Regions from separate parts of the Homo sapiens genome. Here region 1 is linked to region 2. Evidence: promoter capture Hi-C in human tissues and cell types (Jung and others, 2019). All regions are on one chromosome and are shown on one strand. Each heading gives the region's core, a stretch centred on a gene start or on the middle of the fragment in contact. The rest is flanking DNA. Distances are from core to core; before and after follow the strand shown. Region 1 overlaps TSPEAR (thrombospondin type laminin G domain and EAR repeats). Region 2 holds the start of KRTAP10-5 (keratin associated protein 10-5).

The links. The method cuts DNA at HindIII sites, captures the fragments that hold promoters and counts their contacts. A contact is called where the count stands out against the background at its distance.
Region 1: a fragment that was not itself captured here is called in contact with the fragment with the promoter of KRTAP10-5 in region 2 in 3 of the 25 tissues and cell types used here (IMR-90 fibroblasts, lymphoblastoid cells and mesenchymal stem cells).

What each region holds. Positions count from the first base shown.
Region 1 is chr21:44,618,595-44,624,650 of GRCh38, forward strand. All of the region lies in intron 1 of TSPEAR (thrombospondin type laminin G domain and EAR repeats), which reads right to left. Among named protein-coding and RNA genes, the nearest start is that of KRTAP10-9, 5.5 kb to the right of the region's middle. The HindIII fragment of the contact is 3,363 bases long and covers 1,538-4,900 here.
Region 2 is chr21:44,575,909-44,582,104 of GRCh38, forward strand. KRTAP10-5 (keratin associated protein 10-5) reads right to left here and starts at 4,696. Exons shown (of 1, transcript NM_198694.3): 1 at 3,547-4,696. The coding sequence starts at 4,670. The coding sequence ends at 3,855. All of the region lies in intron 1 of TSPEAR (thrombospondin type laminin G domain and EAR repeats), which reads right to left. RefSeq lists enhancers at 3,840-4,430, 4,431-5,020. The HindIII fragment of the contact is 3,934 bases long and covers 3,177-6,196 here.

The DNA.
Region 1 (6,056 bases), core at 1,969-4,468, 41 kb after region 2:
TCCCCAGCTGGGTGACAGTCAGGAAGGCAGCAGCCGGAGTTCCTGGTGTGGGGTGCTGCTGCCAGGGAAGCAGAGTGGACCTTGTTTGTAAGGCAGTGCAGTTGCCTGTTTCGACCGTCTGGTGGCTCCCTGAAGGACTAACACACAGGGCTTGCCTTATTTCACCAACTCAGACTATCTCAAGGTAGAGGAGCAGCTATATGGAGGGTGTGTGTTACAACGTTTAAAGGTAAATGAACAAGTCACTGACACCTAAGTCAAAAATTTTCAGTTGGGAAAACACTGGACACCCCTAAAAAGCCTGGGAGGAAAAGCTAGGAGATGACATGCTTTGAGGAATAAGGGAGTTAGAAGGTTCCACATATTTTTAGAGTCCAGAAAGCCCCCGTGCATGTCTATGATGGGGCACTGGCTCAGAAAAGAGCTGAGAAGCTCTCATTGCTCACCTCTGGCTGAACCTCAGGCTCTGAGCAAGCAGGAAGTGAAGGTGCAAGCAGGAAGTGAAGGTGCAAGCAGGAAGTGAAGGGGAAGGCAGAGTCACAAACTCCCCAGCCGAGTGCTGAAGGCGTGGACCAACATACAGAGCCCAGCTACAAACCCTGAAGAAAAATAAGTTTTTGATTCCAGGGGTTTAAGGAACTCTCTGTCAAATTACTATCTCAGCACTAAGCTAATAGAACAGTGAGCACACATGGTGAAGAAACTATTTTTAAAAACTGACAGAAACAAACAAAAACAACCACAATCCACAACAATCAGCAACAGCAAACTGCGCAGAGGGAGGAGAGCCTGATACCCAGAAATATCCCTTTGTAATTGTCACTGTGCAGTTTTCACCAGAGGCATGTGCCATGCAAAGCAGCAAGAAATATAAGCTACTCATGAGGAGGAAAAGCAATTAATGGAAAATCTTCCTGAGGAAGCCCAGAATTGGACTTATTAGACAAAGCCTTTCAATCAACTCTCTTAAACATGTTTAAAAAACTAAATACAATCACAGACAATGAATTAAGATAAACCAGGAGAATGATACCTCACCAAATAGAGAATATCAATAAAGAGATAGGAGGAAATTTAAAAAGAAATTAAATAGAAGTTCTGGAATTGGAAAGTACAGTCACTGAAATAAATAACTCATGATATGGTTTCAACAGCAGATTTTAGCAGCTATAAGAATTAGTGAACAAGAAGATAGATCCATTGAAGTATTCTTGTCTGAGGAGTAGATGAGAAAATGAGGAGCAGATGAGAGAATGAAGAAAAATAAACAAATCTGAAAAGACCTGTGGGACACCATCAAGCATACCAACACACTTAGCAGGATTTCCAGTTGGAGGGGAGACAGTGGGAGCAGAAAAAATAGTTGAAGAAATAATGGCCCAAACTTCCAGAATTGAGGAAACACATCAATCTAACTCAGAGGGATTCACATAAAAACACAGTATAATCAAACTCTCAAAAGTCAAAACAAAGAGAGAATGTAAAAAGCAGTGGGACGGAAGACTAACAGCGGATTTCTCATCAGAAACCATGGAGGCCAGAACGCGTTGGGATGACATATTTAACATGCTGGGTTTGGGCACAGGGGTGGGGAGCACCCAACAACCAAAAAGACGTCTTCATCTGGCAAAGTGATCCTTCAAAAGTGAAGAAGTAACACATTTTGAGGTAAATAAAACCTGAGAGCTCGTTGCTGAAAGATGTCCCTTACAAGAAATGCTATTTCAGGCTGAAATACAAAGGCAGTCGATAGTAAGCTAAAGCAATATGAATGAAGAAAGGTCAACAGCAAAGGTAGCCATGTTGGTAGTTTGTATGTTTATAGGAGTTTTTCCATTACATCTTGGTTATCTAATTTGTTGGGTACAAATATTCATAGTATTCCTTTATAATTATTTTTATTAACGTAAGGTCAGTAGTGATGTTCCCATTTTCATTTACGATTTTAGTTATTTGAATCTGTCTTCCTTTAATCAGTCTAGACAGAGGTTTGTCAAATCTGTTGCTCTTCTCAAAGAACCAACTTTTTTGTTCCTTGATTCGATTGATTTTTAAAATTTCTATTCCATTTATCTGCACTCTAGTCTTTATTTTCTACCTTCTGCTAAATTTGGATTCACTTTGCTCTTTTTCTAGTTCCTTAAGGTGTAAAGTTAAATTAATGATTTGAGATGTTTCTATTTTTTTATGTAAGCATTCCTAGCTATCAATTTCCCTCTATGTACTGCCTTCATTGCATCTCGTTAAGTTTTGGGTTACTGTGATTTCTTTCTCATTCCTTTCCAAGAGTTTTCTATCTTCTCTTTGAATTCTCCTTTGACCAATTGGTTGTTTGAAAGTGTGCTATTAGGTTACACATATTTGTGAATTCCAGCTTTTCTTTTGTTACTGATTTCTAGTTTCCTTCCATTGTAATCAGAGAAGATACTCTGTATGATTCAAATCAATTTAGATTATTGAGGCTAGTTTTGTGGCCTAAGGTAAAATCTAATCTGAAGAATGTCCCATGTGAACTTGAGGAGAGTGAGTTTTCTGCTGTAGTTGGGTTGTGTGTTTTTGCACATATCTGTTAGACCCAGTAGATTTATGTCATTTTTCAAGTCCTCTATTTCCTTATTGAATAAAAATTTAGTTCTGTTATTTTATACTTTTTTAAATTAGAGAGAATGGCTTATTGAAGTCTCAAACTCTTACTGTAGAACTGGAACTGTCTATTTCTTTCTTCAAATCTGTCCATTTTTGTTTCATATACATTGGTGATCTGATGATAAACATGTATATATTTATAATTGATATATCTTATTGATGGATGGACATTAATCACTACATAATGTCCTGTGGGCCCAGCCCCCGCCGATCAGTCTGCTCCAGCTTCTGTATGACAGTGGCTTCCTCATCAGGCTCCTTTCCTGGCCTATGGCTGGCCCCTCCCCAGTAGGGCCATCATGTCCCCAGGTAACATCCACGTGGCCCCCTGGGCAGCACATATCATTCCTCAGTTGCTCTCACTAGAAGCCAATACTTCAGGCCCCACTTCCTAAGGTCTGGAAAATTATGGCAGCCTAATAAAACAAGCTGATAAATTTAAGACTGGTATTATTTCTCTCCCAGTTGTTTGAGAATATTCAGCAGGGAAAGTATTTGGGTCTGTAGTTGGCTCTGTAGGAAAGCTTTTGATGTTAGATTCAAGTTATTTAATCAATATGGGATATTTGTATTTTTGTTCCTTTTGTGTGGATTCGGTGTCTTGACAAATATAGACAGTTGTGTCTCCACCAACGCAATCAATACATAGACTCCTCTCATCATCCCATACATTTCCCTCATGGCCATTTGTAGTCATTCCACATCCCCATCCTAGTCCCTGGCAGCCACTGACATTTTTTTTGGTCCCTTTACAATTACCTTTTCCAAAATGTTATATGCATGGAACCCCATGGTGCTTAGTATTTTGCCATATAACATAAGACTTAAATAGACCCTTCCCTAAAGAGCAGGTACAGATGGCAAATAAATACATGAAAACATGCTCCACATCATGAGTCATCAGGGCAATACAAACTTAAACCCCAAAGGACTCTCTCTGTATAGCTGTGTTGACTAAAGTAACAACACATCTGCTGTGCAGGACTGGCAAGAATGTGGGGCTTTGCTGATACGTTTGAGCTTAAACCTCCCATCTCATTTTGGTTTTTGCTTACGCAAGGAATCTACTCCCTTTTATCTCCTTGCTTTACTGCTTTTGGATCTAGTGTTTTGAGATTTTTTATGCCCCCATCTTCCCCTCACTGTATTAGTTCCTTGGGCTGCCACATCAAATGTCACCAAAAAAGTGACTTATAAGAGTGGAAATTTATTATCTCGCAGTTCTTAGGGCCAGGCACCTGAAATGAAGATATCCACAGGGCCATGCTTTCTCTTAGCTCCAAGGGAGACTCTGTCCTTGCTGCTTCTAGTTTCTGGTGCTCCCAGCAAACCTTGGCGTCCCTTGGCTTATAGCTGCCTCATGACAATCTTTGCCTTGGCTGTCATACGCCGTCTTCCCTTTGTGTGTGTGTTTGAACTTCCTTCTCCTTTCTCTGATAAAGACATTAGTCATTGGATTTAAGGTTCACTATAACCCGGTATGACCTCATTTTAACTAATTTCATCTACAAAGACCCTATTTCTATGTAAGGTCACATTGTGAGTGACATGGTTTGGTTGTATGGCCCTGCCAAATCTCATGTTGAAATGTGATCTCCACTGTTGGAGGTGGGGCCTTGGGGGAGCTATTTGACTCATGGGAGCGGATCTCTCATGACTTAGTAGTGCTGTCCTTGTGATAGTGAGGGAGTTCTGGCAAGATCTGGTTAAGCGTGTAGCACCTCCCATCCCCCACTCTCTTTCTCTTGCTACTCTTTTGCCATGTGACATGCCCACTCCCCCTTCACCTTCCACCATGAGCAAAGCCCCCTGAGGCCTCCCCAGAAGCTGAGCAGATGCCAGCGCCATGTTTCCTGTACAACCTGCAGAACCATGAGCCAACTAAACTTTCGTCTTATAAATTACCCAGTCTCAAATATTTCTTTATAGCAATGCGAGACCAGCTTAACACAGTGAGGTTCTGGGTGGATATGACTTTTGGGGAGGCAAGATTCAACCCACTACACTCATCTACTTCCTCCTGAGTTGTATATTCTTTCATTACTCTAGTGGAGATTACAACATGAATCTATGACTTTTTAAAGTCTAATGTAAATTAGATCTTATATTATTTCCCAGATAGTATAGTGTACTAAGACTGCTTTAACTTCATGTAGCCCCCTCCTGAATTTTGTGATCTTCTTGCCATGTATTTCATTTCTATAAATATTTTACAACTTCTAAGACATCTTATACAGTAAATATTCATTTAGATTTCCCCATGTTGTCCTCCTTTTGTTACACTTCATTTCCTTTTCGACTTCTTGCTTCCATCTGTGATCATTTTCATTCTGCCTAATTATCTTTTTATTTTCTGTAGTGCAGATCCTACTGGTGACACAACCTCTCAGCATCCAGAGAACATCATTTTCCTGTCCTCATTTTTGAGGATCTTCTTCCCAGGTGTAGAATTCTAGCTTGGTGCTTCTTTTCTTTCAGACAGTAAATATATCATTCCATCATCCTCTGGCTGCCATCATTTCTACTGAGAAGTCATCTGTAAATGCTATTGTTGCTTCTTTAAAGGTAATATTTCTTTTTTTTTCCCTTGGCTGTTTTTAAATTTTTCTCTGTCTTTGGATTTCAGCCCCAATATGCACAGGCATGGTTTCCTTTGTATTCACCTTGCTAAACATTCTTAAATGCTTTTTGCATCTATGGGTTAATGTTTTTCATCACTTTAAACTTCTTGTCTATTAAACCTTCAAATATTTTACTACCCTTATTTTACTCATCTCCTCCTATGATTTCAACCATTTATATTCATAATTATTTACAACATAAGGGCATGCTTACTACTCCACTTTCTTCATTTCCCTCTTTTCTTTCCCATCTCTGTACTCAGGGCTGAATTTCCTCATCTCCCTTTCTTCACTAATCTTCTCTTTGGTTTTGTCTAATATGTTGTCTAGCTAATCTACTTAGTTCTTAATTTCAGCTATTATGTTCATTTCCAGAATTTCTGTTTGATTCCATTTCATAAATCTAGTTTGACACTGAAATTCTCCATTTGTCCTCTGGTTTTTTGAGCAAGCTAATCAGCATTATTTTAAATTCCAGTTTGACAATTCTAATATCTAAAGGTCCTGTGTATCTGTTTCTCTTGTTTGCTTTTTCCTCTTGGTCCTTTGGTCAGTTGGTTTGTCTTCTAGTAGCCCTAGTAATTTTTGACTGAATCCAGGACTTCATGAAAATTTCCAAGATGATTTGAGCCTCTGTTGATGCTGCTGTCTCCAGAAGAGATCACTTTTGTTTCTGGGAGGCACTTAGGCTACAGGCAGATCATATGAGTTCAATACGAGCTGATTTAAAGGTGGGCTTCATTCTTCTTTCCGTTTTTTCCTTCATCCTAGGGCGTAATCCTTCACTTA
Region 2 (6,196 bases), core at 3,446-5,945:
TCTTTCAGGTTTCCAAATGGAGTGGCAAGAACGACAGACAGAGCACGTGTGACCACCATGAGCCCAGGGCCAGCGGACTGCCCAGAGCAGGATGGTCTGAGGAGTTTTGGGCATTTTAAGAAGTCTTTAAAAATTATATTTGGAATAATGATGTGTTGTAACCACTGGAAGAAGTGCCAACTATTCCAATGGTTATAAAACATACTCATAAAGCAATGACGATAAGATCAGAAAGAATTTCCATGCACAGGTGTCAGAGGGTGGCCCGGGAACTCAGCCGCAGTGGAGGTGGAGTTGTGAGGACAGACCCAGAGCACTGGCCACACGGAGTCACAGTCCCGGAGTGGAAGGGAGTGCATAACTCATGGGTGAACAGACACACGGATGTCCCAGGGTGGGTGAGGGGGCATAACTCATGGGTGAACAGACACACGGACGTCCCAGGGTGGGTGAGGGGGCAAACCTCATGGGTGAACAGACACACGGACGTCCCAGGGTGGGTGAGGGGGCAAACCTCATGGGTGAACAGACACACGGACGTCCCAGGGTGGGTGAGGGGGCAAACCTCATGGGTGAACAGACACATGGATGTCCCAGGGTGGGTGAGGGGGCAAACCTCATGGGTGAACATGCCCATGGTTTTCAGCAACACAACTCAATGTGTTGATTGCAACCCATGGAAGCAGAGAGTTAAAAATAACTCCAGAGAAGGGGACTCTGTGGAAGAGTCTTCATTAAACTACAGTGCTGTTTCCCTTCACGTGAGCTGAGAACACTGCTGGTTGAGGTCCTTTGTGTCTTTACCAAACCTCACTCTGTCTTCAGAAAGTCATTTTCCAGGAGGTGTATAGAAAAGTTGAGAAACCACTAAAAACCAAGCCGACTTAAGGGATATTTATACAAAATCCCATCCAACAACAATGGGATGCATGTTGTTTAAAGTGCACGTGGAACATCCACCAACATAAACCACCGGAGAGGCCTGAGAGCAAGTCTCAGTGTCCTCAGGAGGGATGAAATCACAGGAGGGCTGAGCATGCTGCTTGGCCACACAGAATTGGAAATCATTAACAGAAAGACACTTAGAAAACTGCCACATACTTGGAAATTAAATAACACACTTTAAGATCTATGAGTAAAAATATAAATCACAATGGAAATTATGAAATATCTGGAATAAAATGAAAATGAAATCACCCCATATCAATACTTGTGGGATGCAGCTAACAAAGCATGTAGAGGAAAATGCATAGTAATTTGTTTTATTAGAGAAGAAGGCCTAAAATCAGTTGTCCGAGCTTCCAGCTTAAGAAGCTAAAGAAGCATATGTTGAACCCAAAAATAACTAGAAATAATAAAATAATCAAGAATTTAAAAACTCCACTGTGTTTGTCCATTTTGCACTGCTGTAAAGGAATACCCGAGACTGGGCAATTTATGAGGAAAGGCCCACGGTTATCTGGCTCCTGGTTCTACAGGCTGTACAAGAATGGCACCTGCTGAGCTTCTGCTGAGGTCTCAGGAAGCTTTACTCATGGTGGAAGGTGGACGGGGAGCAGGCATCACATGGTATGAGGGGAGCAAGAGAGACAGAGAGGAGGGAGTGCCAGGCTCTTGTAAACAACCAGCTGTCCATGAAGTAACAGAGCAAGACTTCACTCATTATTGTGGGGGTGGCACCAAGCCACTCATGAGGGAACCGTCCCCATGACCCAATCACCTCCCACCAGGCCCTGCCTCCAACACGGGATCATGGTTCACCATGAGATTTGGAGGGGACACATATCCACCATATCACCTACCAAATAGAAAGTGGACAAACAGGGAAATAAATAAAACCAAACCTAGTTTTTTTAAAGACAAATGAAATTGGCAAATTTCTAACTTTACTGGTCATTATAAAACAAGAGAACAAATAAATTACCAATATCGGATGTTATGGTTTGGCTGTGTCCCCACCCAAATCTCATCTTGAATTCTCACATGTTGTGGGAGGCACCTGGTGGGAGGTAATTGAATCATGGGAGTGGGTCTTTCCTGTGCTGTTCTCATGATAGTAAGTAAGTCTCACAAGATCTGATGGTTTTATACAGGGGAGTTTCCCTGCACAAGCTCTCTTCTCTTGTCTGCCACCAAGTGAATTGTGCCTTTCACCTTCCACCATGATTGTGAGGCCTCCTCAGCCATGTGGAACTGTGAGTCCATTAAACCTCTTTCTTTTGTAAATTGCCCAGTCTTGGGTATGTCTTTATTAGCACCATGAAAATGAACTAATACATCAGGAATGAATAAAAGGTTGCCACTACAGAATCTGTAGATATTTAAAGGAAACCAAACAAATAATGCAAACAACTCTATGTCAATACATTCAACAGCTTAGATGAAATAGGCAAATGACTGGAAATGCATCATTTATGAAAAGGGATACAAGAAGAAATAGAAAATCGGAATAGCCCTCTATCAATTGAAGAGACTGGACTCATAATTAAAACCCTTCCCACAGAGACAATGCCAATCCCGAATGGCTTTGCCATTGAATTCTACCAAGCATTTAGGGGAGAAATAATGCCAATCTAACCCAAACTTTTCCAGAAAACCGTGGGGTAGACACAGTGTCGGCGAGGGTGCTAGGGATTAGGGGACGGAGGCTGAGGCCTCACGGGTGGCAGGGATGCCCTTGGTGGGCTCTGGCCATGGACACAGACTCCTGGGATGAGAGGGGGACTCATGGAGGAACACCCACGCCTTGACCCTGAGATGGCCTTGCAGGGAGGGTAACTGAAAATTTACCCACTGGGGACAGTTGCCTACTTACTAAAACAGTTCCAGCCACCACCGCAGCCCCTGGAAGGCCATCCCCCCAGAAAATCCCCCAGGTCTCAGCAGGGCCTTGTCCACCTGTGCCCTCCAGTGTCGCCCATGTCAACCTCACCTAAGAGGGGCCTGACGCACGGTCCTGCAGGTGCGGACTCTGGGTCCTGAAAGCCCATGCGGAACCTGGTGCCCCCAGAGGAGGGCCTGGGGCAGTGCCAGTTTTGGGGAATCATGTGCATCCATCCACCCACTCCATGATGCTTTCGTCCTGATCGAGTCCCTTGTCTCCTGCGCAGGTGCAGCAGCCCCTCCCTCTCCCCCCGCATTGCTGCTAAGCGGGCAGAACTCTCGGGCGGGCGGCACACAGGGAGGGTGACCAGGCCTGGAGGCTGCGGTGCCCGGACCCCAGGCCAGCTTCCTGGAAGGTGACCCTGCAGGGTGGGCTCTCCCAGGTGGGACAGTGGGTGGGACAGTCCTGGGGCCTGGAGAGCCCCACAGCCCAGGGCACGGCAGCCAATGACCAGGCTCAGGAAGACCCAGGCATGGAGGCTGAGCCGGGACTGAGCCTTCCTGGGCGTGGCTGTGAGTTCCACCTGGTGACCCCCTGGAGGAGTTAGGCCACTGTCCCCCGTGACTTCTAGGTTAAGTCACTCATTCATAGAAACAGTCATGGCTAGAGACCAATCTGAGCTCAAAACCATGTATCCCCAGGAGCACTACAGAAAAAGAGAATCAGGCGACCAAGGGGAGTTTATTGGGGAGCAGGAGGAGGTGCTGACAGGTTCAAGTCGAGGCCAAGTGACATGGGGCAGAGAAGCTGGGAGGGAGGACAGGGGACCCAACAGGCAGGTGGGCCCCTGCTGGGAGGCAGGAGCTGGGGAGCTTCGAGGATGGAGATTCCTGGGAGTATGGAGGGGGGGGTCACCTCAGCACATGGGGGCCCCGTCCCAAGCGGGGGCAACCTCCTAACCCGAGTCAGGACCAGTTGGCCCTGGGGGATGTGCACATCAGCAACTGGACTCCTGGCCTGAGCAGAGGCCTCAGCAGGCCAGGGGGGAGCACGCGGGGCGGCAGAGGAGGGACACGCAGGAGGCCGGGCGGCAGCAGCTGGCCTGGTAGGAGGAGGCAGGGGCACAGCAGGAGGAGATGGGCAGGCAGCAGGCGGGCCTGCATATGGGGCGGCAGAGGAGGGACACGGAGGAGGAGGGTCTGCAGCAGGAGGTGGTGCAGCAAGCCGGCTGACAGCTAGACTGCTGGCAGCATGAAGTGGAAGCCCCAGAGCAGACGGGCACACAGCAGATGGGTTTGCAGCAGACAGGCTTGCAACAGACAGGCACGTAGCAGGACTGCTGGCAGGGGGAGGAGGTGCAGCAAGTCGGCTGGCAGCTAGAATGCTGGCAGCATGAAGAGGAATCCTCAGAACAGGTGGGCACACAGCACACGGGCTTGCAGCAGACAGGCACACAGCAGGACTGCTGGCAGGAGGAAGAGGCACAGCAAGTTGGCTGGCAGCTAGACTGCTGGCAGCATGAAGAGGAATCCTTAGAGCAGGTGGGCAGGCAGCACACAGGCTTGCAGCAGACGGGCACGCAGCAGGCCTGCTGGCAGGGGGAGGAGGCGCAGCAAGCCGGCTGGCAGCACGAGGGCGTGCAGGAGCTGGTGCAGCCTGATTGGCAGGGGCTGGGCTCACAGGCCGCCTGGCAGCAGGGGCTGGACACACAGCTCACTGGGGTGCAGACCAGGGTCAGGCAGGGGGCGGTGCCGCAGGGGGGCTCACAGCAGCTCTCTGGGCAGTCGTCCACTCGCCAGGAGTCAGAGCAAGCGCTGGAGCAGACGGACATGGTGCACGCGGCCATGCTGGGGTGGGGAAGACGTGAGCTGGGAGCTGGGGGAGGTGTGAGTGAGTGAGTGTGTGAGTGAGTGAAGGAGGGAGTGAGTGAGTGAGGTGCTCAGGGCTGTGGGGCTTTTAAATCCCTCCCTGGCGTGTGTTGTCCCGACAGGAGGCTCCACAAGCTTCTCTTCCTTGTTGGTGTTTAGAGCTGGTGGCTGGAGATGCGTCATTCATGCTGGTTTATCTGTTTGTTTTTCCCTCATTAAACTTGTGTGTATGTTGCAGGGCCGTGTTTCTTCATCGGTTCTTATTTTAGCCCCAGAAATGTGGTGGAAAATATTTCAAGCAAACTTTTGTTGAGTAGAGGTTTTAGAGATGAAGACTTCTCTAAAGGGAGGAATTCTAGTTTCACCTATCCTGTGTTTGGACTGATTGGATATATTTTATTACTTTTAGCATATTAAAATATAAATAGGTAGAAAAATATGCATTTCTTATAAAATGCAGCTGGCACAGAGGGTACGATGAAGCTAAGTGGCCCTCTCTTCAACCCCTTGTGCCTCGTAAGGGGAATGCTCAGAGATTTGGTATCTGGTGGATCTGTGCTTTATCCTTGTCTCTTCAGCTCTTCCATGCCACCCTCAGAGCCCTCTCTCTGTTTTATTTGAAGCTGCGCTCTGGGTTTTCTCCATTTTTATTTCCTCATGGTGACAGATCAAGTACTTTTTCACATATGGTGATTTTAGGACATACATTTTAAGATTTCTTTCTTGCCTAAAAATGTACTCAACTTTACCCTCACACTTATATGATAGTTTAGCTGGGTATATAATTCTGGTTTTAAGTCAGAATTATTATTATAAATAATAACAAAAAATCTGTTTTCTCAAAATGATGAACCTGTGTCACCATTTTTCTGTAGTGTCCAGCGTTGCTGATGAGAGACTGAGGTTGGTCATTTGTCATTTTTTATAGTTTGTCTCTCTCTCTCCGTTTAACTCTCTGGGAACATTTGGTTTTCTTTTTATTCTTCTTTTGTTTCTATGCGTGTGCATTATTTTACTTTCTGTGGTTAGAATTCATTGAGCCTTTCAATGTGGAGACTCAGGAAGTGTTTTGCGCTCTTAAAAATAACTCATCTCTCAAGGTCTTTCCTTTTGTGACTTTAATTTTGTCTCACGATGAATGAAATACATTTTTGGCTCACTGTAATGATGTTATGTTGAGCATTTAAACGTTTTTCCCCTCGTTTCACTGGACATCAGTTAAGCTCTGCTCATTGGTGGCAGTTCATTTGATTTTCTGAGTAAAAGACTATTTTATTCCAGGGCATTGGGGTCCTGATCCAGTTTACATTCTAATTTGTTTCCATCTGTTTCTCTTTTCTACAAATATATAAAGGATTTTAAAGAGCCTCCCTTTTTGTTAGACAATTTTGATTTTATTTTTTATAACTCTTTGAATATCCTTTCAGTGATTATTAGTAGAGGTTGTGCGAGAACTGTGTGCTTAACCCACTTTCTGGGACTGAAGGACTCGATGCTCCTTTCA